Linked DNA regions of Homo sapiens: all the other regions are linked to region 2. Evidence: promoter capture Hi-C in 16 types of primary human blood cells and fetal thymus (Javierre and others, 2016). All regions are on one chromosome and are shown on one strand. The core of a region is centred on a gene start or on the middle of the fragment in contact, and the rest is flanking DNA. Distances in the headings are between cores, read along the strand shown. Region 1 holds the start of GNS (glucosamine (N-acetyl)-6-sulfatase). Region 2 holds the start of HELB (DNA helicase B). Region 3 overlaps RASSF3 (Ras association domain family member 3). Region 4 holds the start of TBK1 (TANK binding kinase 1). Region 5 has its middle 59 kb from the start of GNS. Region 6 has its middle 38 kb from the start of RASSF3-DT.

Region 1 (4,568 bases), core at 74-2,573, 1.5 Mb before region 2:
CCAAAGGTCACACATTCCATAATTCTGCAATACACAAGCAAAATTTACTCTGGAAAAAAAATGAAGTCTTGTGACAACACCCATTAGATAGAAAATGAAACACTGACAGTCTCTAATGCAACAGTCAGGTGTTCAATCACACTAATTGAATTTTCTTGATTCTTGTGAGGCAACACACACCCTCAATAGTTCGACGGTCGGCCTACCAGATTAGTTCACTTCAGGCCTTTTTTTTTTTTTTTTTTTTTTTTTTTTTTTGGAGACGGAGTCTCGCTCTGTCGCCAGGCTGGAATGCAGTGGCGCGATCTCGGCTCACTGCAACTGCTGCCTCCCGGGTTCAAGCGATTCTCCTTCCTCAGCCTCCCAAGTAGCTGGGACTACAGCTGCGCGCCACCACGCCCAGCTAGAATTATTGTATTTCTAGTAGAGACGGGGTTTCACCATGTTGGCCAGGATGGTCTCGATCTCTTGACCTTCTGATCCGCCCGCCTCGGCCTCCCAAAGTGCTGGGATTACATGAGTGACACACCGCGCCCGGCCCAGGCTTATTTTTATTGACATCAGATACAGACATTGTATACAGGCACAAACGTGGAGGTGGTCTAGGTCCCTCATAAAGGGGACTGGACTTGTCTGTGATCCTCTAATCCAAAAGAAAAACAATCAGGCCTTGAGTGCTCTTAGACAGCACCTGATCCTCATTGGTTCAACCCATCCTCCACTGGTCTCCACATGTTTATCTTGAGATATTAACGTAAACTCCACAGCAGTACGGTCCAGACTAGAAGCTCTGTGTGCTGTACGCATGTGCCTCAATCCAGAAAGGAAAAGAGTATTGCAGTCCCTTACACCGGCATAAAGGGCCTCAGGTGGGAAAACCAAACCTACCCAAGGATAAGACAGCCAGTTCGGGGAGGAGGGTGGTGGGGACCGGGAAAGAGAGCAACAAACCGGGTAGTCAGCCCAAGAGATAGAGGGGCGGGGCAGAAACAGAAGAGTTACCATGCCGCCGAGCACTTCGTCCTGGTCGTCCGTGAGGAGCAGCACCACGTTGGGCCTCCGGGTTCCCGCAGCCACCCCGAAGACCCCCAGGCAGCCGCCCAGCACCAGCAGTAGCAGCGCTGGGCTGCAGGAGGGCAGGTGGCGGGGGCTGCCCCGCCGGAGCCGACCTGGGGCTAGAGGCAGGAGCCGCATAGCGGACAGGCTCCGGGGTGACCCCGGGACGGGACGGGACGGAGGGACGCACAGGTAGCTGAAGGGCGAGAGGCCGACCAGCCGAAGGAATAAAAAGCCGTGCCTTGAAGGCCGGTGGCTGGAGTCAGACGTTTTCTCCCTAGGCGCGATCACGTGAGCCAGGGACAGGGGGCGGAGCACGCTGCGCGGTCACGTGACGGCCGGCGTGGGCGGGGCTGCGGACTGGCGCAGCCTGGAGGGAGGCATCAGGCAGTGGCGGAAAAGGGGCGGAGAACCGGAGAAAAGGGCGGAGAACCGGAGAAAAGGGCGGAGAACCGGAGAAAAGGGCGGAGAACCGGGAAAAGGGCGGAGAACCGGGAAAAGGTCAAGACCTGTACGTACCTCTCGCGCAGGCTCGGGTTGCGTTCTGGTAGGACGTACGTGTTTCTGAGCGCTTGGTGGAAAGATTTAAATGGGGGGAAGAGAAGATGAAAAGCAGGAAAGAGTTGGCAAATACTAACCAACCGATAAAGGAAGAGAAAGGAGGACTGTACATAACAGAAATTATCATCAGCTGGTGAGGAAAGTGGACTCTACCATATTTAATCCCCAAGTCGACGGGCACTTATTCAAGGCCCGGATGTTTAATCGTTTTTAATTTTCTCTACAACTTGTGAGATAAATCTTAACATTCTCATTTGGCTCAGACATTAAATTCGGAACTGGTTAGCTCTCTTAACTCCAAAGCCTAATTATGTTCTTCTTTCCTCAGCAGACATCGTAGTTTCAAACAATTTAGGGATGTCCTGACAGCTTTATCCTAATGGTTATCCTAATGGTCCTTGGTGACTTTTTAAACACCCTCTTGGAACATGTTGGAGGATGTGCAGATCGAACAAAAATCTTGAAACGTGGTCATCCAACTGCATTATTAAGTAATCTTTAGCGGGGAATAGCCCTTGAAACTAGCTCCAGATATTTCTGTGGTCGCTCTGGAATAATTAGACTTTGCCCCTCTCCTCTCACCGCCCACCGTGGGCGCGGTGGCTCACGCTTGTAATCCCAGCACTTTGGGAGGCGGGTGGATCACCTGAGGTCAGGAGTTTTAGACCAGCCTGGCCAACGTGGGGAAACCCCGTCTCTACTAAAATACAAAAATTAGCTGGGCGTGGTGGCAGGCGCCTGTAATCCCAGCTACTCGGGAGGCTGAGGCATGAGAATCGCTTGAACCCGGGAGGCGGAGCTTGCAGTGAGCCACTGCACTCTGGCCTCAGGGACAGAGCGAGACTCTTGTCTCAAAACAAACAAACAAACAAAAAATCACAGAGATATTCCTGGCAAGGTGAACTGTCAAGTCACATCCCCAGACCGATATAACAAGGTATACCTCCTTGCTGGTAAAAGTATTTTCTCTGAGTTGAACTGTTTGCCAAGAAGAGTCTCTTAAAACTCGTGAAAACTATTCCAGAACTTAAAGTATTAAAAAAAAAAACTCGTGAAAACACTATACTATAAGGTAAAAATAATGATGGAAACACGTTGAAACCTGATGTGTACAAGGATAGGGCTTATGCAAAAAAAAAAAAATTACCTTTATTACTTTGTTTTTTTCACACAGAGGGGTAATGCGCGGAGTCCTAACAAGGTTTGAGGTAGGGGTGGTAACTCACACAATAGCATGAAAACCCAATCATCAGGCTTATGAACCACAAAAGGATCTTAATACTTTTTTTTTTTAAGTAAGCCTACAGAAGGCAAAAGAAGCTTTAAAAAAACTGAAGTAGTTTTTCTGCAAGAAACAATTATGCCGGAAGTGTGGTCAGAGCAGTTCCTAGACAACCAGAATACTTGGTTACAGCCTTGGCCTAGGCCAATTTTTCAAGCTGGTTAGAATAACTAATCCTTCTGTATTCAGGTTTCAAGACTTCCAGGAAGACTTTCTTGCACAAAAAAATAACCTATTTCATCTGTATCGAAGCCCCAAATTGTAAAATTGTTTCTTTTCTATTTTTTTCAAGGTTAGATTATAAACTATTTGAGGCCAGAAATTGTGTAATTAGTTGCCCACTTTGTTCAGGATGCTGCTGTCAGAGGCGATTGAACCAGAGCAACTCCATCTTGAAAAGGGGCTGAGTAAAATAAGCCTGAGGCCTGCTATGCTGCATTCCCAGATGGTTATGCATTCTAAGTCACAGGATGAGATAGGAGGTCATAAAGATACAAGATACAAGATGCATGTCATAAAGACCTTACTGATGAAACAGGTAGCAGTAAAGAAGCCGACTAAAACCCACCAAAACCAAGATGGTGATGAAAGTGACCTCTGGTCGTCCTCACTGCTAAATTCCCACCCAGCGCCATGACAGTTTACAAACGCCATGGGAATGTCAGGAAGGTACCCTCTCTGGTCTAAAAAGGGGAGGCATGAATAATCCATCCCTTGTTTAGCATATCATCAAGAAATAACCATAAAAATGGGCAACGAGTAGCCCTCGGGCTGCTCTGCCTATGGAGTAGCCATTCTTTTATTCCTCTACTTTCTTAATAAACTTTCTTTCACTTTACTCTATGGTCTTGTCCTGAATTCTTCCTTGCTCGAGATCCAAGAACCCTTTCTTGATGTCTGGATCAGGACCCCTTTCCGGTAACACTGCTACACTAGTGCTGAAGAGACATTGTCCCTCGTTCATGGAATTTGCAGTCTAATGGCAGAGAGATGGACAATCTAATCTTGTATCTTGTATATGATTACAAATAGACATGCTATGAAGGAAAAGTAAAGGGTGCAATGAGCATTTAAGGTGGTGGGAGGCTGATTTAGTCTAAGGTGCCCTGAGGAAGTGATCTTTGAGTGAAATCTGAAGTTTGAGTAGGAGATAATTTGTTAATGGAGTATTGGGGTGGTGGAATGTCTCCTAAGCACAGAGTACAGCATATGCAAAGGTTCTGAGCTGGTGCATTGCAATAACTAAAAGAAGCCAGTGTGGTTAGAGCAGAGGGAGAGAGGTGGTGAGGACCCAGATCCTATTTTAAGGACTTGGGTTTTTATAGTAAGGCTAATTGGAAATTACTGAAAGAATGTAAGATAAATATAATCATACATGAACTTTTAGAAGATCCTTTAGACTGTGGCATGAAGAACAGATTGGAAGAGGACAAGCATGGGTGAGGGTAGACCAATTAGGTAGAGAGAAAAGTGGATAACAGGGACAGATTCAAATTTTGTGGGGCCTGAAGTTTATGTGCATTTGGCGAGTGGAGGCTCCTTAAGAAAAAGAATAACAATTTTAGATACAAAAGTAGGTACACAACTGAATATGTATTTAGACTAAAACAAAATATAACGTTATAAATTTTTAAAAGTTGAAAAATATTACAAATAATGCAAAAATTTA
Region 2 (4,374 bases), core at 1,486-3,985:
AGACAAGGTCTTGCTATTTTGCCCAACCTGGTCTGAAACTCCTGGGCTCAAGCAATCCTCCTACCCTGGCCTCTCAAAGTGCTGGAATTAGAGGCACGAGCCACCATTCCTGGCTATTTTCATTAACTTGTGGTTTATCTTTCATGTGATTTTTTTTTTTTTCGTAACACTGACACATACAAATAAAATGATATGCATTGTTTTACATCTTGCTTTCTCTAATTTAAAACAGTATCTTGGAAACTACTCCCTACCAATTTGTGGCAATCTTTCTTTCTTTTTATAAAAAAAATAGCTGAAGAATACTCCATTGTGTGGATGTACTACAGTTTATTTCATTAGTCTCTTGCTGTTCAACATCTCTGCTATTTCCAATAATTTGCTATTACAAAAATCACACAGTAGATAACCTATGTCTATGTTGTTTTTTGTTTTGGGAAGTGTAGCTTCAGGGTAGATCCAGGTATCTCAATTTTAGAACACATCCCAAGTGATTTTGATGCACAGCCAGATTTGAGTACCACTGCTTACTATGTATGGTAAAGATGGTATCCAGAAAGCCAGAATTGTTAACTTTTTTTTTAAAAGAATGAGAAAACAATAGGTAAAGAAGTAAGATTCTTATCATCCTAAATTCCTATCTACACTATCCAATAAAATGCAATTGAACTATATGAATAGAAGCTGAACATATAGTGACCAGGTGCAATGGCTCACGCCTGTAATCCCAGCACTTTGGGAGGCCGAGGCCGGCAGATTACTTGAGTTCAGGAGTTCGACACCAGTCTGGACACCATGGCGAAACCCTGTTTCTACAAAAAATTGCAAAAAATTAGCCGGGCTTAGTGGTGTGAGCCTGTGGTCCCAGCTACTTGAGAGGCTGATATGGGACGATCACTTGAGCCTGCTGGGAGGTCAAGGCCTCAGTGAGCTGAGATGGTGCCACTATAGACCTGTACCAAAAAAAAAAAAAAAAAAAAGGGAGGAGGAGTTGAACACCTGTGCTGTGTAGTGGCTCACATCTGTAATCCTAGCACCTTGGTAGACTGAGGCAGGAGGATCACTTGACTTTAGGAGTTCAAGACCAGCTTGAGCAACACAATGAGACCTTGTCCCCCCACCCCCCAAAAAAAAAGAGAGAAAGAAAAAAAAGTTTAACATCTAGAGATCTAGAGTTGATTCTTGTGCCCAAGTCATCATGTTGGTAACAAGAATATCCCATGTATATACTCATAAGTGACCCAGATTTGGGAAGCCAATGATAAGTTGCAGTTTAGATATGCTGAGTCTTAAGTAGCCAAGGGGCATCCAGTAGTGACTGACAGTGTTTAGGCAGTTGTTTGTATGGTTTGGAGATCAGATTAGGCTGAGTCATTAGCATGTAGGTGAAGGATGATTGAGGAAAGGATTATAGAGCAAGAAGATGCTTGGGATGGAGCCTTGGGGAATAACAGTACTTACAGGCAAGCAGAGGGGTCCAAGACTGTAAATAGCCAGAAAGGAGAAAAATCTGAGAAGGCAAGCTGCAAAAGCCCCGGCAGCAGAATGCTACAAGAAGAAAATACTTATCAGTATCAAATACTGCTGAGAGGTCAGGTAAAACAAAGGCTGAAAAGTATCCACTGGTTTTTGAAACGAAGAGGACAGTAAGTGTGACATTTGTCAGAGGAGATTCAATGTTGTGGTGGAAACAGTAGCCATGTGAATGTCAAAGGAATTCAACCTCATATAGCCAATCCTTGGAAACACTGGTGTTTTGTCAGCTGCAACAGTATTTCTTTTAAAAGCAACAAAAGTGGGCATTTTTCAATTGGTACCCAAAGGAAAAGAAATCAATTTTTATATTTTCTCCTATACATTTTTCTTAAATATTTGGTGCTAGTTGTCGTTTATATATATTTAAATATAGCATCAGGTGCTTTTGGATTTAGTAAATAGTGTGTGTTTAGTTATTTCAGGAATAATCCCAAAATAAACAGTATCAATACAGTAATGTAGTAATATATTTATGGTATTTCTTAAATAGTACCAAGACTTTCAAGTACCATCCTCATCAAGTAAGAGAATCATAGCCCCATAATAGTTTTTAAAACCACGTTCCTTTCTCTTCTATTTCCCTTCTCCTATTCCTGTCTATACTCTGGGCTGCAAAGAGACACTTTTGCCCCACTGTCAGCAGGTAGCAGCCCAGCTTAAATAAGTTTGGGAGACCAGGGTGTACTCACAGAGGAAAGGATAAAAATAACTTTGAATGTTATCTAATCCAGTGGTGTCCAAACCTAGCTGAGCATCAAAATGGACAGCCCGGAATGTACATTAAAAAGACAGAATTCTAGGTCCCTGCCCTAGATCCGATTCCAGAAGGGCATCTGCTATACTTTCGTTTTGGGAAGGTTGGGGTGGGGGTTGCTTTTCCAGGTTCTTCAAGCTCAGCAGAAGTGGACTTTCTCCCCGTTCTCTCTCCGCAGGAGATGCCGTGCACTGGCGGTTCTGCAGGTGCCACGCCTGTCACTCCCCAGCGCTGATTTCGTCCCAGCACCTTCCTGATAATCACCGCCCAGCACCAGGCTCCAAAAGGAGCGGAAGCCCCGCCCATCTCCCAGCCCCTCGCTCTCCCTTCCCCGCCCCTAACCCGCCTTGCCCCGCCCCTTCCACATGCCCTCCCCTCGGCAATTCCTGGAAACTTGGGGCGGAGCTTCGCTGCCTTTCAGGTTTTATGTACGCTGGCGGCCGCCAGGCCGTTCCCGGAAGTTGATGGCCTTACAGTCGTAGAACTGATTGGCTGATCATGACCATGCAGTTAGCCAGGGTTTTCCCGAGTTGTTTGGGTTGAGTTCAGGAGAAGCATGGCCAGGTCGAGTCCGTACCTGCGCCAACTTCAGGGACCTCTGCTCCCACCCAGGGATCTGGTGGAGGAGGACGACGACTACCTAAACGACGACGTGGAGGAGGATGAAGAGTCCGTGTTCATCGACGCCGAGGAGCTCTGCAGTGGGGGCGTAAAGGCTGGCAGCCTCCCCGGGTGCCTCCGCGGTGAGGAAGGCGTCTGCCCGGGGGATGGGGTTGGAGGGTCCAAAGTAGCGCTTCCCATTCTGGCTTTGCCCTGAGCAAGGCACCCAGTCGTGCTAACAGATTTAGCTTATCAGTGGTCTAGCTGCTTCATCCTACCAAGGGTAAAATTATGACTATAATAATAGCAGTGACTTTAACTGGACACATACTATGTGGTTTTTTTTTTTTTTTCTTTTTTTGAGCAGCAGCAAGATTTATTGCAAAGAGCGAAAGAACAAAGCTTCTACAGTGTGGAAGGGGACCCGAGCGGGTTGCCCTTTTTTTTTTTTTTTTTTTTTAAAATTATTCTCATTTTAATGGTCGTCCTTTAATTTAATGTACCTTTAATGTAAGGTAGTTTTACGCTTAAGGAAACAGTGGATGTTGAGTCTCTATTTCCACCCAGAATCGGAACTTTTATTTTTCCTTCTGACCACTTATCCTCAAGTTCTATAGAATGAGAACTTGTAATTATTATCCTATATTGCCTGGAGTCAAATACGTGGTTCTTCCTCAGCTTCTTGGAAAAACAAAACAGTCCGGGCGCGGTGGCTCACGCACTTTGGGAGGCCGAGGCAGGTGGATCACTTGAGGTCAGGAGTTCGAGACCAGCCTGACCAACATGGTGAAACCTGTCTCTAGTAAAACAACAACAACAACAACAAAACTACAAAATTAGCCGGGCGTGATGTCGCACACCTGTAATCCTAGCTACTTGGGAGGCCGAGGCAGGAGAATTGCTTGAACCCAGGAGGTGGGGGTTGCAGTGAGCTGAGATCACACCATTGCACTCCGGCCTGGGCAACAAGAATGAAACTCCATCTCAAAAAACGAAAAGGAAAGAAAAGAAAAAGAAAAACGAAACACAAGGAACACCTCAGTGCACAGATGATTGTTAATTGGTGTTAGTAACCTTGTGGTTCGGGTAAACCTTGTATAAGTAGTTTCCTGTGCTATGAGGTAGTTTCCTGTGCTATAAGTTATACCTGTTATGTATACTTTGTGACTGAGACTTAAAATATTTTAATGTGCCGACCGGTGCTGTTCAGTAGAACTTTCCATGATCATGGCAGTGTTTTATATCTGCACTGTCTGGTATAATAGCCACTAGCCATATGTAGCTGTTTAGAACTTGAAATCCAGCTAGTGTAACTGAGGAGAGAAATTTTAAGTTTTATTACATTTTAATTTAAATAGCCACGTGGGTGGACAGCGCAGATTTAGGCAGAAAAGTTTCAAGTATTTGTGGAGGGCTTAGTCGTCATTCTAAAGTATCATCAACTGGCTAGCATGTTTGGTGCTGGGAAAACCTAGAGAAATAAA
Region 3 (4,885 bases), core at 1,969-4,468, 1.6 Mb before region 2:
AGTGTTGTGTAATCGTCTGTACATGGTTTCTTTGATAAGAGAGAGGCAGGAATCTGCGTAAAGCAGGTGTACAGACATAGTTTGCCCATGAGACAGCAAGAAGAGCCCTGATGTCCTAAAGGAGAGCCCTCTCCTGAAATGCATAACATACATATATATTTTTTTTTCCTTTTTTTCAAAAAATAGAGACAGGGTCTCAGTATGTTGCCCAGGCTGTCTCAAACTCCTGGCCTTAAGTGATCCTCCTGCCTCGGCCTCCCAAATTATTGGGATTACAGGTGTGAACCACCATGCCTGGTCTTGAAATGCATATCTTAGTCACTGTTACTTCTTTTAAATTGTTTTAATTGTATAAGATAAAAACCAAAACAAACAAAAAAAATGCTACCATTTCAGGAGCATACATCTAGTCTTAAAAATATCATAAATTTGGGCCGGGTGCAGTAGCTCACGCCTGTAATTCCAGCACTTTGGGAGGCCGAGGCGGGCGGATCACGTGAGGTCAGGAGTTCGAGACCAGCCTGGCTAACATGGTGAAACCCTGTCTCTACTAAAAATATGAAAATTAGCCGGGCGTGATTGTGGGTGCCTGTAATCCTGGCTACTTGGGAGGCTAAGGCAGGAAAATTGCTTAAACCCAGGAGATGGAGGTTGCAGTGAGCTGACACAGTGCCACTGTACTCCAGCTTGGGCAACAGAGTGAGACTTTGTCTCAGAAAAAAAAAAAAAAAAAATTATAAATCCTTTTTATTCCCCTAACTTGGATCTCAGGTTAATTGGGATATGCCTAATAACAAAATTTCTGAACATGAGGTTTACTAGAAAGAATTATTTTTTAGATTATTTGTGATATATGTATATATGCATTTGATAGTAGTGGATGTGTTTATTGGACTCTTAAGTACTTGCTATGTACTGTGGGACATGTAGGAGTATATGAATATTTGTCAGCTAGATTATAAAGCTTAAAAACATATTATTGGGCAGGAGTGGGCTATGGGGCTGTGACTACTAGTGGGCCTGGGGTTTCTTTGTGGGTTGATGAAAATAGAGATGGTTGTGCAACTTTGTGAATATAGTAAAACCATTTAATTGTATACTTATGGGTGAATTTTATGTTATGTGAGTTATATCTCAGTGATGCTTAAAAAATGCTGTTAATGAATTTGCAGTGCTGAAAAGATTCCAAAGTTGTGATTCTCTACCTTTTTCTGTTCTCCAGATCTCCCAAAGCAGTTGCAGTGAAAGATAAAGAACATCAAACACTCTTATCTTCTGGTGGTGGGGAAATGCTGAGTGGCCCTGACTTTGTGCAGTGAAAGTTGTTTACACAAGCCTGAGTCTATAAACTCAGAGATAAAAAAAATCACACCAGGCTGAAGCCCCATCAGGCAAAAACCTACCAGAGAAATGGGCCTGCCCGTCTGATGGAATATCTGGGATTTCCTGATGTTGGTCCCTTAATTTGTGGACCATTTTAGGCTGTCATTAAAGTAGCAGTCTAAAGTAAGAGAAAAATTCTGACATGGAATAATGTGGATGAATCTTGAGGACATTACATGAAATAAGCCAGTCACTAAAAGGACAAATACTGTATGATTACAATTGCATGAAGTGCCTAGAGTAGCCACATTCATAGAGACAAAGTAGAATGGTAGTCACAGGGAAATAGGGAGTCAGTGTTTAATAGTATAGTTTCTTTTTTTTTTTTTTTTCAGACAGAGTCTTACTCTGTCGCCCAGGCTGGAGTGCAATGGTGCTATCTTGGCTCACTACAGCCTCCATCAACCAGGTTCAAGCGATTTTCTCCTGCCTCAACCTCCCTTGTAGCTGGGACTACAGGCCCACGCCACCACGTCTGGCTAATTTTTGTATTTTTAGTAGAGTTGGGGTTTCGCCACGTGGGCCAGGATGGTCTCGAACTCCTGACCTCAAGTGATCTGCCCACCCGCAAAGTGCTGGGATTACAGGGGTGAGCCACCACGCTGGGCGATACAGAGTTTCAGCTGGGGAAGGTGAAAAAGTTCTGGAGATGGATGGTAGTGATGGTTCCACAATATTGTGAATGAACTCAGTGTCAAATAACTATATACTGAAAAATGATTCAAATGGTAAATTTTATGTTGTGTTTAATCACAATAAAGTAAATTTTTAAAAAGTAAGAGTAGTAAAATCACTTTGATGAAAAGAAAGGGTGGGACCAGGGTATTTGGATTGTCTACCAGGCCAGGCACCCTTTTCAGTGGTCTTGCCTCTGTGCCTGCCTTCTGAGTGTGAGGAGGATGATGAGGATGCCCAGGGCAGGTCTCTGCCTGCTCCCTTCGTTCTGGTCCTTCCACCAGTCACCCATGGAGCATCTCTTGTGTTTCAGAAATGCCAGTGCCTTGGCACAGGAGCAGGATAAAACTGTGCCCCCAAGGCACTTTTAATCCAGAGGAAGGTTGGCAAAGATACATTTGCTTGAAAAATATTGTCAGGGCCAGGTGTGTTGGTTCACACCTATAATCCTAGCACTTCCCAGTACTTTGGGAGGCTGAGGCAGGAGGATCACTTGAGCTCAAGGAGTTCAAGACCAGCCTGGGCGAGACCTCATCTCTACAAAACTTCAAAAAAAATTAGCCAGACATGGTGGTGCAGGCTGAGGTGGGAGGATCATTTTAGCCCAGGAAGTTGAGGCTGCAGTGAGCGTTGATTGTGCCACTGCACTCCAGCCTGGGTGACAGAGCGAGACCCTGTCTCTAAAAAATAAATAAATTGTCAGGTTGCGTTATGCTCCCCTGTGGTAGAAGTGTGGGTGGTGTTATTTAGGTAGTACTTGGAGAGTGCCCGTCAGATGTCTGGAAACCTAATTTAAAGTAGTAAAATCAACACGTGGGTGAGACTTGATACCCACAGACATATTTTTTTTTAAAGCTAGAGTGTCTCTAAAAGAATGAGACTTGTTTATAGCCTAAAAATTCTCCATGGAATGAAGATCCTCCTGGTGCCAAAGGAACTGTGTGCTTTTGGTGAGGAGCCCATCAGCATGAGGTTTTCCACTGACTACGGTTTCCCAAGGCAACTTAAGAGACATAGTCAAGGCCTTAAGGAATTGATGGGCCAGCCATGGAGGAGACTCAAATACAAACACAATGTTTTTGCGCTTTGTAAGCATGGTTATGGAGCACTGTCTAAACTAGTGAAAGTAAATTTAATAAGAAGGAATTACGGCAGGCACAGTGGCTCATGCCTGTAACCCCAGCACTTTGGAAGGCTGAGGCGGGCGGATCGCTTGAGGCTGAGAGTTCAAGACCAGCCTGGACAACATAGTGAAACCCTGTCTCTACTAAAAATACAAAATTATCCAAGTATGGTGGCATACACCTGTAGCCCTAGCCACTTGGGAGGCTGAGGCATGAGAATTGCTTGAACCCAGGAAGTGGAGGTTGCAGTGAACTGAAAGTGAAACTCTATCTCAAAAAGAAGAATGAATTATGCTGGGCATGATGGCTCACGCCTGTAATCCCAACACTTTGGGAGGCTGAGGCAGGAGGATCACTTGAGCTCAAGGAATTTAAGACCAGCTTGGGCAACATAGCGAGACCCCTGTCTCTACAGAAAATAAAAAATTAGCCAGGTGTGGTGATGTACACCTGTAGTCCCAGCTACTCAGGAAGCAGAGGCAGGAGGATATCTTGAGCCCAAGAGTTTATTAAGGCTGCAGTGAACCATGATTGTGCCACTGCACTCCAGCCTGAGCAACAGAAAAAAGAACAAATTGTGGAAGAGACATGTTAAAGTCCAGTGGGTCAGTGACCAAGAGCCCAGAGACTCTAGTTTCAAACATACACATTCCATGGTCCTGCCTGTGTTTTTAGACAGATCATTCTCAGAGGCAGCCTTCATCTGTTAAATAAATTCTTTACTTGGTGGGAGGAGGTGAGAGAGAGGTGGAGTCAGAGGTGAAGTGTGGGGATAAGGATGTGATATTTTTAGCACAGTTTGAGATATAAAGTAATTTCCTGATAAGATTATTCTTCTCCTAAATGGAACCTGTACTGTCCTCATTCTCTTACTAATGACAAGGTCAGAGCAAACCGACAAACATGGAAGAACAGGGTTCCTAGCCCTGGTGGTGAATTCCGAGGCGGTCTGAGCATACTCCAAAAAGTTGGCTTTAGGATACAGAGGGGTCCATTTTTGTGGACTGCTTTATTTTGGTTCAAGGGTTGTCTGTGAATTTTACAATAAATCAGAGTCTTTGTTTTCCTATTGCTGAGGGAGGGGAGGGAGAGGTTTGCAACAGTCTATTAATAGAATATAGCATAATTTGAAAGGAAATGTAGAAAAATCAAATGCTAATAATAATAATATTGCTGGGCATGGTGGCTCATGCCTGTAATCCCAGCACTTTGGGAGGCTGAGGTGGGCAGATCTCTTGAGATCAGGAGTTTGAGACCATCCTGGCCAACATGGTGAAACCCCATCTCTACTAATAATACAAAAATTAGCTGGATGTGGTGGTGCATGCCTGTAATCCCAGCTAGTCGGGAGGCTGAGGCAGGAGAATCACTCGAACCTGGGAAGCGGAGGTTGCAGTGAGCTGAGATGGCGCCACTACACTCCAGCCTGGGTGACAAAGCGAGACTTCATCTAATACGTGTGTGTGTGTGTGTGTGTGTGTGTGTGTGTATGTATGTGTATATGTGTGCGTGTATATATATGTGTGTGTGTGTATGTGTATATATATGTGTGTGTATGTATATATATATGTGTGTGTGTATGTATATATATATACACATACACGCACACATATGGCACGCACTATGTTGCCCAGGCTGATCTCAAACTCATGGGCTCAAGTGATCCGCCCGCCTCTGCCTCAAAAAGTGCTAGGATTACAAGT
Region 4 (4,773 bases), core at 891-3,390, 1.9 Mb before region 2:
GTTTCCCTATTTGTAAAATGGAAATAATGGTAGCTACCTCAAACCTCATTACGAATTCAATGAGTTAAACTTGAAAAGACTTATTACAGTAGCTGGCACATAAAGACTTGATAGTAGTTTATATGGATGCTATCTCATATTAGCATATATGGAATTAATAGTGTATCACTATACTTTTTTTTTCTTTTTTTTTTTTGAATAGAGATCAGTCTATCACCCAGGCTGGAGTGCAGTGGTGACATCATAGCTCACTGTAACTTCTCCCATACTCTACCAATCCTCCTGCCTCAGCATCCAGACTAGCTGTGATTACAGGTGTGCACCACCACACCCAGCTACATTTTTTTTTGGTAGAGACAGGGTCTCACTATGTTACCCAGTCTGGTCTCAAACTCCCGGCCTCAAGCAATCCTCCCACTGGCCTCACAATGTTGGGATTACAGGTATAAGCCACTGCACACGGCCTTACTATGCTATCAATTCCATATATGGAAAGGTGTTTTCCCTTTCAGAGCTCTTTAAAGCTCTGCAGAAGATTTACATGTGTTTATAGAGCTAAGAGAAATCAGGGCATGGAAATTGAGTGTGTAATAAAAATTAAACTCTTCATGTTATATAATCATGCATAACTTCTATCTTCATTCTCTGAAGTTGCCTAGAGCACCATCACAGCTAGGAAGCTTCCATCATGAATTACCTTATTTCCAAAAGCAAGTACTCAAATAATTGTCTCAAGAGAGGAAGGACAAAACTGTTACAAGCTGAAATATTTGGGGATTTGTTTGACTTGACTAGGGAACCACAAGTTTTCATATAATGCCTGATTTAGCCCTGTGCCTAACAGTTTAAATCTTAATGCTAATGTTAATTGCTTCCCAGTTGGTTGACCTTATAAGAAAACACTGTGTGGTATTTTAATGTGGTAAACATGTGAATGAAGGCCTGTGGCTCAGTTAATCACTCCCACAACTTTGAGCTGTGAGTTTTACTGGTGGAAGGAACTTTAACAGGTCTTCGCTCTTGTCATTAGATATCAAAGAACTGAAATTAGTTGGAATTGTAAGCAGTGAATAGATGTGTTGTTAGAATGATTCCATCACTTATACATTGTTTAAAATGCTAATAAAGTAACTTGCTTTGTAAGAATTCATTAGAGTGGACTTTTGTTATCTCCATTGTGCATTTGATAAAACTGAGGCTTAGAGAGGTAAGAGATTAGCTTTTAAGTCAGTAATTGGCAGCCGAGACAGCAACCCTAGGTCTGTTACATTCAAAAGCCTCTGAGCCACTCCGCATGACTTCCCATTCATTCGTGTTTGCTGCTGCTACTCTGGGAAACACCATCTTCCTCTTCCCCTCCACTCAGAAATTTAGCCCTAGATTAGCAGCGGTCTCTGCTCCCTCATGTTGAGAAAGGCCTGTTGTGCTGTCCGTGGGCAGAAGGGACCCCTTCAGAAAGCTATTCCTTATTGGGAATAGCGGCTTGAGATTTTGACTGCACGAATATTGCAGGACCTAATTTTAGTATTTAAGTTTTAGTTCTTAAATTCTTAAGTTTAGAGTTAGATACTCCAATACGGCCGTTTTCCAAAATACCGAGAGGGAATTAAATGAACATTTTTACATTAAGAATTTAATGTATTTCTGGGTGATGGGAAAATGAAAAAAACAATGTAAAGTCTGAATTACTGCGAGACGATAATCTGGCTCCACTGCAGCCAAAGTGGGCCCTTAAAACATAGAATCCATCCCTCCCAGCTCTGCCGGCCGTCTGTGCCTGCCCCCCACGTGTCCCACGTTCTGCACACCTGTAAATCTTGGGATGTAATCCCTTGCTCAGCGTCGGTCCGCCCTACTGTCGGCCAGCGCTCGGGGAAGGGGCGGGATTTGCAGTTGCGGGAATCCCAATTACTGTGTTCGCTGCTCAGGGCTCCTCATTCCCCTTTAGAGTAAAGGGCGAGGGCAACAGTGGACGGGGTGTCTCCAGACATCCCCCTCATTACCGTGGCCGCGGAAGCCGACTCGGCAGTTGCCGCCGCGGCTGTGGTGACTACCAGACGGGCCATAGGCGTGCGCACGCGCACCCGCACCGGCGCGCCGGCCGTCGGTCACGTGGCCTCCGGCCAGGGCTTGCGAAGCCGGAAGTGTCCTGAGTCTCGAGGAGGCCGCGGGAGCCCGCCGGCGGTGGCGCGGCGGAGACCCGGCTGGGTAAGTGAGACGGCCGCGGGCTGAGGGGCCAAGGCGGCGCGGGGCGCGGTCGGTCAGGCCTGCGCCGCCCGGCGGGGAGCGCTCCCGCCCCCTGTGGGAGGCTGGGATGCTGAGTCAGAGCGGGGGCGGGGGCGGGCGCACCGAGAAGCCCCGGACGACCCGAGGCCAAGCCATCCAGGACCCCGGCTGCGTGGACACTGCCTCTGGGGTGTGTGTCGGGTGGCCGTAGCCGGTGGAATGGTCGCGCGGGCCCTGTTACCTGCATCCCCGCTCCGCGCCGCGCGGCCGGTCCTCGACCTGCATCCCGTCCGGCGGCTTTGGGCATAAAGAGGACGACTCCGTTACCGGGCCTGGGCCCTGGCTGCCTGGGGAGGCAGGGGCACCTCTTTCCCTTAGACTCGCTGTTTTCTACCCTCTTTCCGAGCGTCGACACAACGGGCAGTTTTTAAATGTATTGATTTTTCAGAGGATTAAAAAGAGACGTTTCCTTAGAGTTTTAGTGATGTTCAGTCCGCAGAGGTTGACTCACACCGGAAATTAGAAGCATAAGATGTTTTAAATATATGCCGATGAAATACGAATTCCCAGACATTTCCTTGCTCCTCGTCTACCTGGCTTATGGGTTTAATTTGTAATCTCTATCCCAAGTATTCTTAGTAGGTGGCCTCAAAACAACTCCCAAGTAATTGCCAAATGTATAACCAAAGACTGGTCTTTTCCACTCTGAAACCCCAGTGTATGAATCACATAGGGGCAGAGTTTAGAAATCCTGGAACTTTGTCCATAGGCCATGTCGTCAAACCTGTTTTCATCCCTCAACAAATAGTAACTTTCGTTTTGGACGGTGTAAGGAAGTAGGCTGAAGACGGCATCATCAGCAACATAGTTGTTGAGTGTCTGCTTATATGCTTGTCAAAAATTTGGGAAGATTTATATGGCAAGCACGTTGTGGGTGTGCTGAGTCATGTTTTAACATGTTATTGTGGAGTTATTGGAAGATAATTTCAAAAGACATTTCCCCTGACCACTATTGTGATTACTGTTAAATAGAAACCATAGTTTTGTATTTGCATAGAGAACAGATATCTTAGCTGATAAATATTTTTCTTATTATCCTGAAGGTACATACATATAGGTACCTAATGGTACTATTTGCCATTTACAGTTACATTGATTAGGGAAGGTTTTTCGTTAGATAGTTGAGACGTTTGTTATTGTATCGTGAGTGAAATGTAATGACTGGCAAATGTGTATTCCTTATTTGTGAAAAGGGAATCTTATTTTTATTGCTTATTTCCTATAGTCGTATATAAAGTTTATCTAAATTAGATGGGTAGTAAAATTATATAAAAATATCCTACTATATCAGTGATTGGTAAAATTGAGACCCCTGACCATTCTGCATTTTCCTAACCCAGCTTGGGGATATTGGTGGTCATTAATTCATCACAGAATACCTAGTCTAGCATACTACTTTTTGCTTTAACTTACTGTGGAGGGATATTAAAATCCATGTTTTAATGACAATACAGCAGGTTTAAGGGGGCATGGTGGGACTAGTGTTTATGTTATGTTAGCATACATCAATTTTAGTCCAGTGTGGAGCTTGGATACTTTGTATACCTTGATAGATCCATAGCTTTTCAGTATTAAAGACTTGATAATACAGGCTACTTGGTACGTTTATATATTTATACTTGGAGGTTGGAGAAACTATCCTTAAATTAATTCCAGAAGAGTTCGTAACTTTTCAGGAATAATAATTTTTGCACCTTTCCTTTATGTTTGTCAGGTTCTGTGTAGATTGTGTAGATAAAATTTTAGCTTATGGGAATATTATGCAGTGACAACATTTGTCTTCATTAGTGTTTCTCTGCTCTGAAGGAAACAAAGTAATTTTTCCTATATTTGTTATATTTTACATTATTACTTTTCTTTATTTTAAAACACCTTAAATTATGTCATAAATTAATCTTTCAAAACATTTGAAGGAGGTAAGTAACAATATCACTCTCATCAACAAAGACAAAATTAGAAGAGAAATAGGTGTTGTTTTTGTTTGTTTTTGTTTCTTTTTGAGATGGAGTCTCGCTCTGTCACCCTGGCTGGAGTGCAGTGGTGCGATCTCAGCTCACTGCAACCTCTGCCTCCTGGTTTCAAGCAATTCTTCTGCCTCAGCCTCCCGAGTAGCTGGGATTACAGGCATGCGCCACCACGCCTGGCTAATTTTTTTGTATTTTTAGTAGAGGCGGGGTTTCTCCATATTGGCCAGGCTGGTCTCGAACTCCTGACCTTGTGATCCGCCCGCCTCGGCCTCCCAGAGTGCTGGGATTACAGGCATGGGCCACTGCACCCGGCTGAGAAATAGATGTTTCTTTCAGCCCTGTGTTAAGTGAATTAAATTGAATGTATGTCATTGGTTAATGTTTTTTTTTTCAAAGCTCATACAGCATTTTAGCCTTGAATATTGCTAGAAACTCAGATCTTTTTTTTTTTTTTTTTTTTTTGAGACGGAGTCTCGCTGTGTCACCCAGCCTGGAGTGCAGTGGCGCGATCTCGGCTCAC
Region 5 (4,586 bases), core at 1,424-3,923, 1.6 Mb before region 2:
TAAAGGATTATTATATAAAATGGACACCCCCTGACCATTACTAAAATAGAACCTTGTCAGTTCTTTAGAAATCTCTCCCTCCACCCCTGTTCTTGCCCTGAGGTCTCCTACCCCTGAAACATACCACTTCAACATAAAGTGAGTATTTGTATTTTTTTGGTCACCATGACTGCCTTACACAGATGGGATGGATAGTGTCTGGGGAACCACAGGGACGATGGAGTGCCACCCTCTGCGCACCTGCACCTCGGCTTTGTGCCATGGTTTCAGCTTCCATGCCTGCTGTTGGGAGTGTTTTTACTACTACACTGCCCCCTGGAGGGGCTGATGAAAGGAGCAAGGCTGGCACCAGGTGGTAGAGGCCTTTCACGTACCATAGCTGCTCCCTAAATAAAAATACTGTGATAGAAAATTATGGCTCTGTATAATTTTGCTTTTCTACTGAAATATTCAGAGGAATCAGGTTTGGGGGTTCTACTTGGGTTACTACCCAAGGTGCGTGGAGAATGTTTGGGAATTTTTATATTTTTATCCTTTATTTTTTTTGGAGATGGAGTCTCAATGTGCCACCCAGGCTAGAGTGCAGTGGCATGATCTTGGCTCACTGTAACCTCCACCTCCCAGGTTCAAGCGATTCTCCTGCCTCAGCCTCCCTAGTAGCTGGGATTACAGGTGCCTGCCACCATACCCGACTAATTTTTTTTTTTGTATTTTTAGTAGCGACGGGGTTTCTCCACGTTGGCTAGGCTGGTCTCAAACTCCTGACCTCAAGTGACCAACACACCTCAGCCTCCCAAAGTGCTGGGATTACAGGTAGGACTTTTTTTTTTAAGTCAATTTTTATTACTAAAAAAAAACCTTTTTTTTTGAGATAGAGTTTCACTCTGTCTCCCAGGCTGGAGTGCAGTGGCACGATCTGGGCTCACTGCAACCTCTACCTCCTAGGTTCAAGCAATTGTCCTGCCTCAGCCTCTGGAGTAGATGGGATTACAGGCGTGTGCCACCACACCTGGCTAATTTTTGTATTTTTAGTAAAGACGGGGTTTCACCCTGTTGGCCAAGGTGGTCTCAAACTCCTGACCTCAGGTAATCTGCCGGCCTTGGCCTCCCAGAGTGCTGGGATTACAGGTGTGAGCCACCGTGCCTGGCTCACATGAATATTTATTGAAACAACAGTTATCAGTTGGTGACAAATTCGGAGACACTGTCAGATAACGCTAATTAGGTATTTTGTTTTATTGAAAGAAGGGGGCTGGGCGCGGTGGCTCATGCCTGTAATCCCAGCATTTTGGGAGGCCGAGGTGGGCAGATCATGAGGTCAGGAGTTTGAGACCAGCCTGACCAAACATGGTGAAACCCCGTTTCTACTAAAAATACAAAAATTAGCTGGGCGTGGTGGCGCACACCTGTAATCCCAGCTACTCAGGAGGCTGAGGCAGGAGAATTGCTTGAGCCAGGGAGGCGGAGGTTGCAGTGAGCCGAGATCGCCCCATTGCACTTAGCCTGGGCGACAAAGTGAAACTCCGTCTCAAAAAAAAAAAAAAAGAAAAGGGGCCAGGCACAGTGGCTCATGCCTGTAATCCCAGCACTCTGGGAGGCCAAGGCGGGCTGATCTCTTGAGGCCAGGAGTTCAAGACCAGGTTGGCCAACATGGCAAAACCTCTTCTCTGCTAAAAATATAAAAATTAGCCAGGCGTGGTGGCACACGACTGCTGTCTCAGCTACTCAAGAGGCTGAGGCAGGAGAATTGCTTGAACCCGGGAGGCGGGGTTCAAGCCCCGTGATTGCGCCACTGTACTCCAGTGAGCCGTGAGTACTGCAGTGAGCCATGATTGCGCCACTGTACTCCAGCCTGGGCAACAGAGCAAGACTCTATCTCAAAAAAAAAAAAAAAAAAAAAAAGGGTGGTGGTGAAGGTCTACACTATAGTAGCCAATGCCAACAAAGTGCTTACCATGTGCTAGGCATTCTTCTGAAATGCTTAATATGTATCAACTCATTGACTCTCCTGTGACGTTATCACACTATTTCGTCATATCCCTTTTTTCACAAATGTGGAAATGGACATGTTGAGGTTTAGCAGCTTGCTCAAGGCCACTGTGTGAGTGAGTGGCAGAGCCGGACACTGCCCCGTTTCTCTACCATCTTTTCCTGTAAGTGCTCTCTAGTTTCTCAGTTAAATTGCCTATTGAGTAAAGGAGCAAAAGTCTGTTAAATTGCCGTAATGGACAGTTTGCCCAGAAGCGTAACTGTTTTGGTGCCATTGGGGTTTGTTGATATCAGTGTGTTCTCATCCATTTTGGTTCATTTATCATTTCATTCAGGTGATTATACTAAGTCACATAGAATGAAATGCTGACCTGTGCTTTCTTTTTATTTTTTCGGATGGGGTTTCACCTTGTCATCCAGGCTGGAATGTAGTGGCGTGATTACGGCTCACTGCAGCCTTAACCTCCTGGGCTTAAGAGATCCTCCCATCTCAGCCTCTCAAGTAGCTGGGACAACAGGTGCCTGCCACCACATCCAGCTAATTTTTTTTCATTTTTGTAAAGATGGAGTCAGGCTATATTACCCACGCTGGTCTCAAACTCCTGGGCTTAAGTGATCCTCCTGCTTTGGCCTCCTAAAGGGCTGGGATTACAACCACCATGCCCAGCCCAGACCTGTATTTTCATTTAGAGGTTCTGTTGCATGGGGGAAATAACACGGCAGGTAACCAAACTTAGTGGTCTCACTGTAGTTGGTAAGACAATTCTCCTGGAACCACCAGAAGAACAGCTTCAGTACTACAGAGTGCTATAGGAGCCACAAAACTTGTGCAAAGGTTTGACTCATGGAACCATTCCCCCAAACAAGGCTCATCCTCTGCAGAGAGAAACTAGGAGGTAAGTATTCAAAGTCTAAAGCATATGCTTGTGTGGTGTGAATCACTACTTGCTTAATTGAATGTTCAAGAAAGAAGTTTTATATAAGGATAAAGGTGGGGGGGCAGGTGTGGTGAAGGCTGGAATAGGAGGGAGTGGGGACTAGCTGGGTTATATACCAACAACTCTGAAGCTAAATCATTTATTCCATCTTCAGGCTTGGATCTGGGTTTGGGTTTTTGTTTTTTGTCTTTTGGGGTTTTTTTGCCTGTTGGTTTTGGTTTCATTTTGTTTTGTTTTTTGACAAGTCTTTCCCTATTCCAGGAGATGAGAATAGCAGGGTACAGGATAGACCCCTTTGATCTTAAATAGTGTTTCCAAAGGATGATTGTGGTTCTCACGTGTCTGGCTGAGGCTGCATTTGGCATCAAGTGAACTCTGAAAGCTCCTCTCTTCTTCTTGTTTCTGAGAAATGTGAGCACCTTTAAGTATTATTTACGCACAAACAACAAAACATCAGGGCTCTTTGTAAACCTCAAAAGAAATTGGGATTTGACTTTGTTTTGGGGAGGGAGTTATTTCAATCAGGAGAGTTCATTTTTTTCTCTTTCTAAACGAGGAGTTCCGATTACAATGGGCCTGGGTCATTAAGGGCATCTATCTGGTTTGTGTTTGCTGGCATATGTACTGCCGGCTGTTGAGCCACGCTTTGTGGACACGTGGGATTCATTAAGCCCTCTGTGGTTCCTGTCTCTGAAGTGGCTTTCTAGGGAGGCTCTGCTCTACAGGGTTTTTCCATTTACAGGTGCAATAAAATTTGTTTAAATTCTAAAAATTCTGAAGCAGCAAACTTTAGTGCCTTGCCAAAACTTAGAATTCTTGAATTACTGCTGTTGCAGGCAGGGAGGCAACAGCTTAAATTCAAACCTTTTACTCAGAACTATAAATGGTGTCTTCAGATTCTTTTAAAGATGGTGAACATTTCAAACATTTTTCTTGCATATGTGATCTTTGCAAGGAAAACATTCATAGTCAATTTTGTTTAGGTCAGATTGAGTATTTCGAGGCCTTATTAATAAAAGATGCTTGACTGAGCAGGTAAGGCCAACCATAGAAACTGAGGAACAAAAAGACCAGCTTTCAGAAAACTTCCAGTTCTTTTTTTTTTTTTTTCTGAGACAGAGTCTCACTCTTGCGCCCAGGCTGGAGTGCAGTGGCTCGGTCTTGGCTCACTGCAGCCTGCGCCTCCCAAGTTCAAGCGATTCTCCTGACTCAACCTCCCAAGTAGCTGGGATTACAGGCACCCACCACCACGCCCAGCTAATTTTTGTATTTTTAGTAGAGACAGGGTTTCACCATGTTGGCCAGGCTGGTCTTGAACTGCTAACTTCAGGTGATCCACCCGCCTCGGCCTCCCAAAGTGCTGCGATTACAGAGGTGAGCCACTGTGCCCAGCCATCAGAAAACTTCCAGTTCTATCGCCTTTATCTAGATACAGTTTGTATAGGAGTTTGTGTGTGCTGGGGAAGGAAGTGGGCTTTAAGGGTGTAGTGGTGTTGGGGAGGCCAGAAATAATGTCCCCTTTATCATGGAAAGTTATTTGTTATGAAGGTGGTAGTTAGGAAAAGGCAACGTTTAGGATCTTTCGGAAGATATTTCAAGACAAAATGAGGTTACCACACTATTTCTTCACAGACTGCCTTCGGAACTGTGGAAGGTGCT
Region 6 (4,675 bases), core at 2,145-4,644, 1.7 Mb before region 2:
GTGGCATGATCTTGGCTCACTGCAACCTCCGCCTCCCTGGTTCAAGCAATTCTCCTGCCTCAGCCTCCCAAGTAACAGAGATTACAGGCACAAGCCATCATGCCCAGCTAATTTTTGTATTATTTTAGTAGAGACAGGGTTTCACCATGTTAGCCAGGCTGGTCTCGAACTCCTGACCTTGTGATCCACCTGCCTCGGCCTCCCAAAGTGTTGGGATTACAGGCGTGAGCCACTGTGCCCAGCCATGAGTTCACTTTTAATTGCCATCCTCTCACTGAAGTAGCCAGGTCAACTAGGGAGTCTCAAAGTAGTATGAGAAAATTTGGAGAGGACTAAGCTTGGCTGCAAGAAGAGGTTTTGGCTGGGCCAAGTGTAAACCCACTCAAGTGCTCAGTGACCCAGACATACAAATGTGTGTGTAAATGGCAGCTTCTCTCTTGCCTCTCCCGGACTGATACTCTCTTCTAGAAAAGCCATGCTTTGCTGTAACTATTGGAACCTCTAGAGCTTATCTGGGCCAGAGCTCTTTGCACAAGTTAGAAAAAGGCCCCTGCTCCAGCTGACACAGCCCTACGCTGCAGCCTCAGCTTGGCTGGTAGAGGGCAGGCTGGATTTCAGCCTCTTCTTGGCCTCCAGCCAGCTGCTTTGTGCAGTGCACAAACTCCACACCTGTGGTGTTGGCCCCTTCCCACCTGGCTGCTAAAATCTCTCCCGAACGTTGCCATGAGTTACAACCAGTTCCTCCCAGCTCCATCTCCCTTGGGGATGTTAGGGTGACCAGAGGTGATTTTTAGTTACACTGTCCCTAATGGAATTCTGTGGGCTGATCCAAGAATACGAGTATCTTAAAGTCATTGTTCTTATGAGGAAATGTATTCCTAGGTCTTTTCAAGTAAGCAACTTAAAAATACATCTTTAAGCTGGGCGCAGTGGCTCACGCCTGTAATCCCAGCACTTTGGGAGGCCGGGGCGGGCAGATCACTTGAGATTGGGAGTTCAAGATCAGCCTGACCAACATGAAGAAACCTTGTTTCTACTAAAAATACAAAATTAGCCAGGCATGGTGGCGCATGCCTGTAATCCCAGCTACTTGGGAGGCTGAGGCAGGAGAACTGCTTGAACCGGGGAGGCGGAGATTGCAGTGAGCCGAGGCCGTGCCACTGCACTCCAGCCTGGGCAGCAAGAGTGAAACTCTGTCTCAAAACAACAACAACAACAAAAACATCTTTAGGGGACAAACAGCCCACTAAAAATATCGGGTCTGCCTATAATGTATTTGACTTTCTTCTCCTCACCCCTTAAGCTTGTGAACAACTGTGGCTCACTCTACCTTCCGCCTTGGCTGTTTCAGATTTGACCTTGGCTCACTCAGACTTTGGCCTATAAAGTTCACAAGCTTTAGAGCATAGATTTCTGGATGTACTATTTTCTTTTGAAACCTGAACCCCAAACCAAGGGTGTGTCTTTGTAAATGACTGATTTAATTAAAAAATGGGCCGATGCTGATTATACAGATTTCTTCTCTTGGAATGCTTATTTTGGTGCTGTCCTAAAACTGATGTTTTGCAGCTGATGGATTAGGAGGACAGATGTTTTCGCTTGGCCTTCTCTCCTTTATATTTCTCATCTGGGCATCATAATAATAATATCAAGGGACAAACAGAGCTGAACTCAACACCAACACTTGACCTCATTTCTGATTTATGAATTCTCCCTGTGACCACGCAATTTGAGGAGAAGGCTGCCTCTGAAATGTGTTTTGCATTTTAATATTTTTTCATACTAGCCTCCTTCTTTGTCAAGCCACTGTGTGTGCAGCTGGCTTAACTTGCTGACTAGAAAATTGAAATATACTTCTATCCAGCAGCCAAAAACAAAGGGAAAAATTGTCTTTCTAAGAGCTGTTTAGCTGCCTGCGTTTCCCCCACCCCATCCCTCCTATCGTATATGAACAATACCCAAAAGAATCGAAGCTGCTTTTGGATTAATGTCAGTTGCAGCATTTCTCACGAGCTTTTTGGGTAGCACTGAAAACATGAGGGTTCTGTCATCTCAGCGTGGCTCCGTGAAGTGTCCTACCCTGCTCCAGAGGACGAACTGGAGACACTTCTTAACCTTGGGGGACTCAAGTCATCTGGCAAGCCAGATTTTTGGATAAAAAGTGTCTAAAGGCCAGACGCAGTGGCTCATGCCTGTAATCCTAGAACTTTGGGAGGCCGAGATGGGTGGACCACCTGAGGTCAGGAGTTCAAGACTAGCCTGGCCAACATGGTGAAACCCCATCTCTACTAAAAATACAAAAATCAGCCGGGTGTGGTCGCGGGCGCCTGTAATCCAGCTACTTGGGAGGCTGAGGCAGGAGAATTGCTTGGGAGGTGGAGGTTACAGAGAGCCGAGATCGCGCCATTACACTCCAACCTGGGCAACAAGAGCAAAACTCCATCTCAAAAAAATAAAAATAAAAATAAAAACAAAAATAAAAGAATGATAGTTTGTCTCCAAGCTTGCCCAGGTTGGTGCATTATAATGACACACTGCAGATGCCAGGCCCTGCGATCCTTAGACAAAGAAGAGGGGCTGTCGCTTTTTCAGGACATGGACTTCAGAGAATCATGAGGCTACCTGGCCACAGGAAACGAGAACATGATCCTCAAACCCACACCAGTGAGCACAATCAGGAAGCCTTGTTATGACCTGGCAGCAAAGGAGAAAGTGGGTTCAGTGACATCTGTCTGGAGATGTGCTGGGCTGGGCTGAGGCTTCAGCACACATAAGCTTCCTGATCATTCAGCATTCTCCTTTGTACTTTTTTTTCTTTAAGACACCTGTGTTTTTTGGCTGCCATGGGGGTGGGAGGAAGCCAAGCTTGGCAGCCTCTTCTGATCTGGTGTTAACAGCACCATACAGTAATTTCCAGCAATTATCTCCCTATCGTAAAAGTTCTGCAGAGAGATTCGTGACACTTTTTTTTTGTGCTGTTCCAATGCATACATTTAAATGGGGAACAAATTCTGTCCATATGGTGTCTCCTCTCTCTTCCCAGGTTCCCAAGTGCTTGGCCATGCCCAGCTATGAGTTGCTGCATACACAAAGTAAGGCTTGCTGGTATAGACAGTGGGGACAAGCAGTGATTTTGGGATTCTGCTGGTGCCAGAATCACTTACTTTATTCTCTTCTTTCTGATAGCTGGAGGACAAAGGGCCTTCCACCAATCCTAGAATTCATAGGTTATGACGTTCATAAGCTACTCCTTACCTGGGATTAGACCTAGTTACCTGGTTAATTCCTCCCATGGCTTCATGAACTTTGCCTTCATGGCACTGATCACAGTTTGTAATTGTAGACTTGTGTGTGTGTGTGTGTGTGATTATTTATGTCTTCTTATTAGACTATGCTATGAGCTGAATCGTGTTCCCCCAAAATTTATATGTTGAAACCCTAACACCTAATGTAGATAATTCGGGAGAGAAATCTTTGGGAGACAATTCGATTTAGATGAGCCCATGAGGCTGGGGACCTTCATGATAGGATTAGTGCCCTTGTAAGATGAGACACCAGAGAGCTTGCTGTCACTGGCATGCTCTGTCTCCCTCTTTGTCTGCCATATAAAGACACAGTGAGAAGGTAGCCTTCTGCAAGCCAGGAGGAAAGCCCTCACCAGAACTTGACCATGCTGGTACCCTGATCTTGGACTTTCAGCCTACAGAGCTGGGAGGCAATAACTTTCTGTTGTTTAAGCCATCAGTGTATGGTATTTTGTTATGGCAGCCTGAGCAGATGAATACAGACAGTAAATTTTATGAGAACACAAGCCACATCTGTTCTGCACATCACTGAACCCCAGCACCAAGCACAGAGCTCGGCATATGATAGGGCCCAATAAATATTTACTAAATTAATGAAAGAGTGAATAAATGTACGAACGAAGCTTGAAGAAATCACAGAAAGTAAGTCTAGTGTCTTTACTTAATAGATGAAGAAACAGAGGTTACATTTCCAACTTGTCCAAGTCTATGAAGCTTGTTTTTTTGTTTCACATATATAAAGACAGATTGAATGTGTCAATTCCAAACCATTAATTGAACATCTATTTTTGTTATGTTAGAGAATTCAAAGGTCGATAAAATGCAATTTCTTTTTAAAATTTTTTCAAGGGACAGTGTTTCCTTCTGTCACCTAGGCTGGTCTCAAACTCCTGACCTCAAGTGATCCTCTTGCCTCGGCCTCCCAAAGCACTGGGATTATAAGCATGAACCACTGTACCCAGCCCAAAATGCAATTCCTATTTTTAAAAAGCTTTCTTCTTGCCAGGTATGGTGGCTCGTGCCTGTAATTTTACCACTTTGGAAGGATGAGGTGGGAGGATCACTTGAGACCAGTTTGAGCAACTTAGTGAGACCCAGTTGCTGGGCATGGTGTCATGCCTCTGTAGTCCTAGTTGAGGCTGAGGTGGGAGGATCACTAGAGCCTGGGAGGTCAAGGCTGCAGTGAGCTGTTATCACACCACTGCACTCCAGCCTGGGTGACAGAGTGAGAACCTGTCTTAAAAACAAACAAACAAAAACACTTTTCATCTAAACAGCAGTTTAGGCAGTTAAGATAAACAGTAGTGATTATTCATTAAGTGCTTACTAATACATTATTTTATTTCATGTTTACAACAATCCAATGGAAT

Evidence for each region. The method cuts DNA at HindIII sites, captures the fragments that hold promoters and counts their contacts. A CHiCAGO score of 5 or more calls a contact.
Region 1: the fragment with the promoter of GNS here is called in contact with the fragment with the promoter of HELB in region 2 in 3 of 17 cell types (activated CD4 T cells, total B cells and non-activated CD4 T cells); the score reaches 5.9 in activated CD4 T cells.
Region 3: a contact is called between a fragment that was not itself captured here and the fragment with the promoter of HELB in region 2, in 1 of 17 cell types (activated CD4 T cells). The highest score is 5.6, in activated CD4 T cells.
Region 4: a contact is called between the fragment with the promoter of TBK1 here and the fragment with the promoter of HELB in region 2, in 3 of 17 cell types (total CD4 T cells, total CD8 T cells and activated CD4 T cells). The highest score is 8.3, in total CD4 T cells.
Region 5: a contact is called between a fragment that was not itself captured here and the fragment with the promoter of HELB in region 2, in 1 of 17 cell types (non-activated CD4 T cells). The highest score is 5.7, in non-activated CD4 T cells.
Region 6: a contact is called between a fragment that was not itself captured here and the fragment with the promoter of HELB in region 2, in 1 of 17 cell types (neutrophils). The highest score is 6.4, in neutrophils.

What each region holds. Positions count from the first base shown.
Region 1 is chr12:64,758,083-64,762,650 of GRCh38, forward strand. It overlaps GNS (glucosamine (N-acetyl)-6-sulfatase), which reads right to left and starts at 1,324. Exons shown (of 14, transcript NM_002076.4): 1 at 1,003-1,324. The coding sequence starts at 1,194. It overlaps LOC124903113 (small nucleolar RNA U13), which reads right to left and starts at 2,891; the gene lies at 2,786-2,891. It also overlaps a transcript of TBC1D30 not described here. RefSeq lists an enhancer at 1-750. The HindIII fragment of the contact is 13,978 bases long and covers 1-2,935 here.
Region 2 is chr12:66,299,758-66,304,131 of GRCh38, forward strand. HELB (DNA helicase B) reads left to right here and starts at 2,736. Exons shown (of 13, transcript NM_001370285.1): 1 at 2,736-3,033. The coding sequence starts at 2,847. RefSeq lists enhancers at 2,806-2,855, 2,916-2,995, 3,627-3,726, 3,757-4,066. The HindIII fragment of the contact is 5,857 bases long and covers 1-3,290 here.
Region 3 is chr12:64,655,313-64,660,197 of GRCh38, forward strand. All of the region lies in intron 1 of RASSF3 (Ras association domain family member 3), which reads left to right. Among named protein-coding and RNA genes, the nearest start is that of MIR548Z, 35 kb to the left of the region's middle. The HindIII fragment of the contact is 4,513 bases long and covers 963-4,885 here.
Region 4 is chr12:64,449,980-64,454,752 of GRCh38, forward strand. TBK1 (TANK binding kinase 1) reads left to right here and starts at 2,141. Exons shown (of 21, transcript NM_013254.4): 1 at 2,141-2,208. It overlaps XPOT (exportin for tRNA), which reads left to right. Exons shown (of 25, transcript NM_007235.6): 25 at 1-1,146. RefSeq lists a silencer at 2,012-2,481. The HindIII fragment of the contact is 9,573 bases long and covers 679-4,773 here.
Region 5 is chr12:64,697,898-64,702,483 of GRCh38, forward strand. No RefSeq gene overlaps it. Among named protein-coding and RNA genes, the nearest start is that of GNS, 59 kb to the right of the region's middle. The HindIII fragment of the contact is 6,460 bases long and covers 1-4,586 here.
Region 6 is chr12:64,568,766-64,573,440 of GRCh38, forward strand. It overlaps a transcript of RASSF3 not described here. Among named protein-coding and RNA genes, the nearest start is that of RASSF3-DT, 38 kb to the right of the region's middle. The HindIII fragment of the contact is 1,063 bases long and covers 2,864-3,926 here.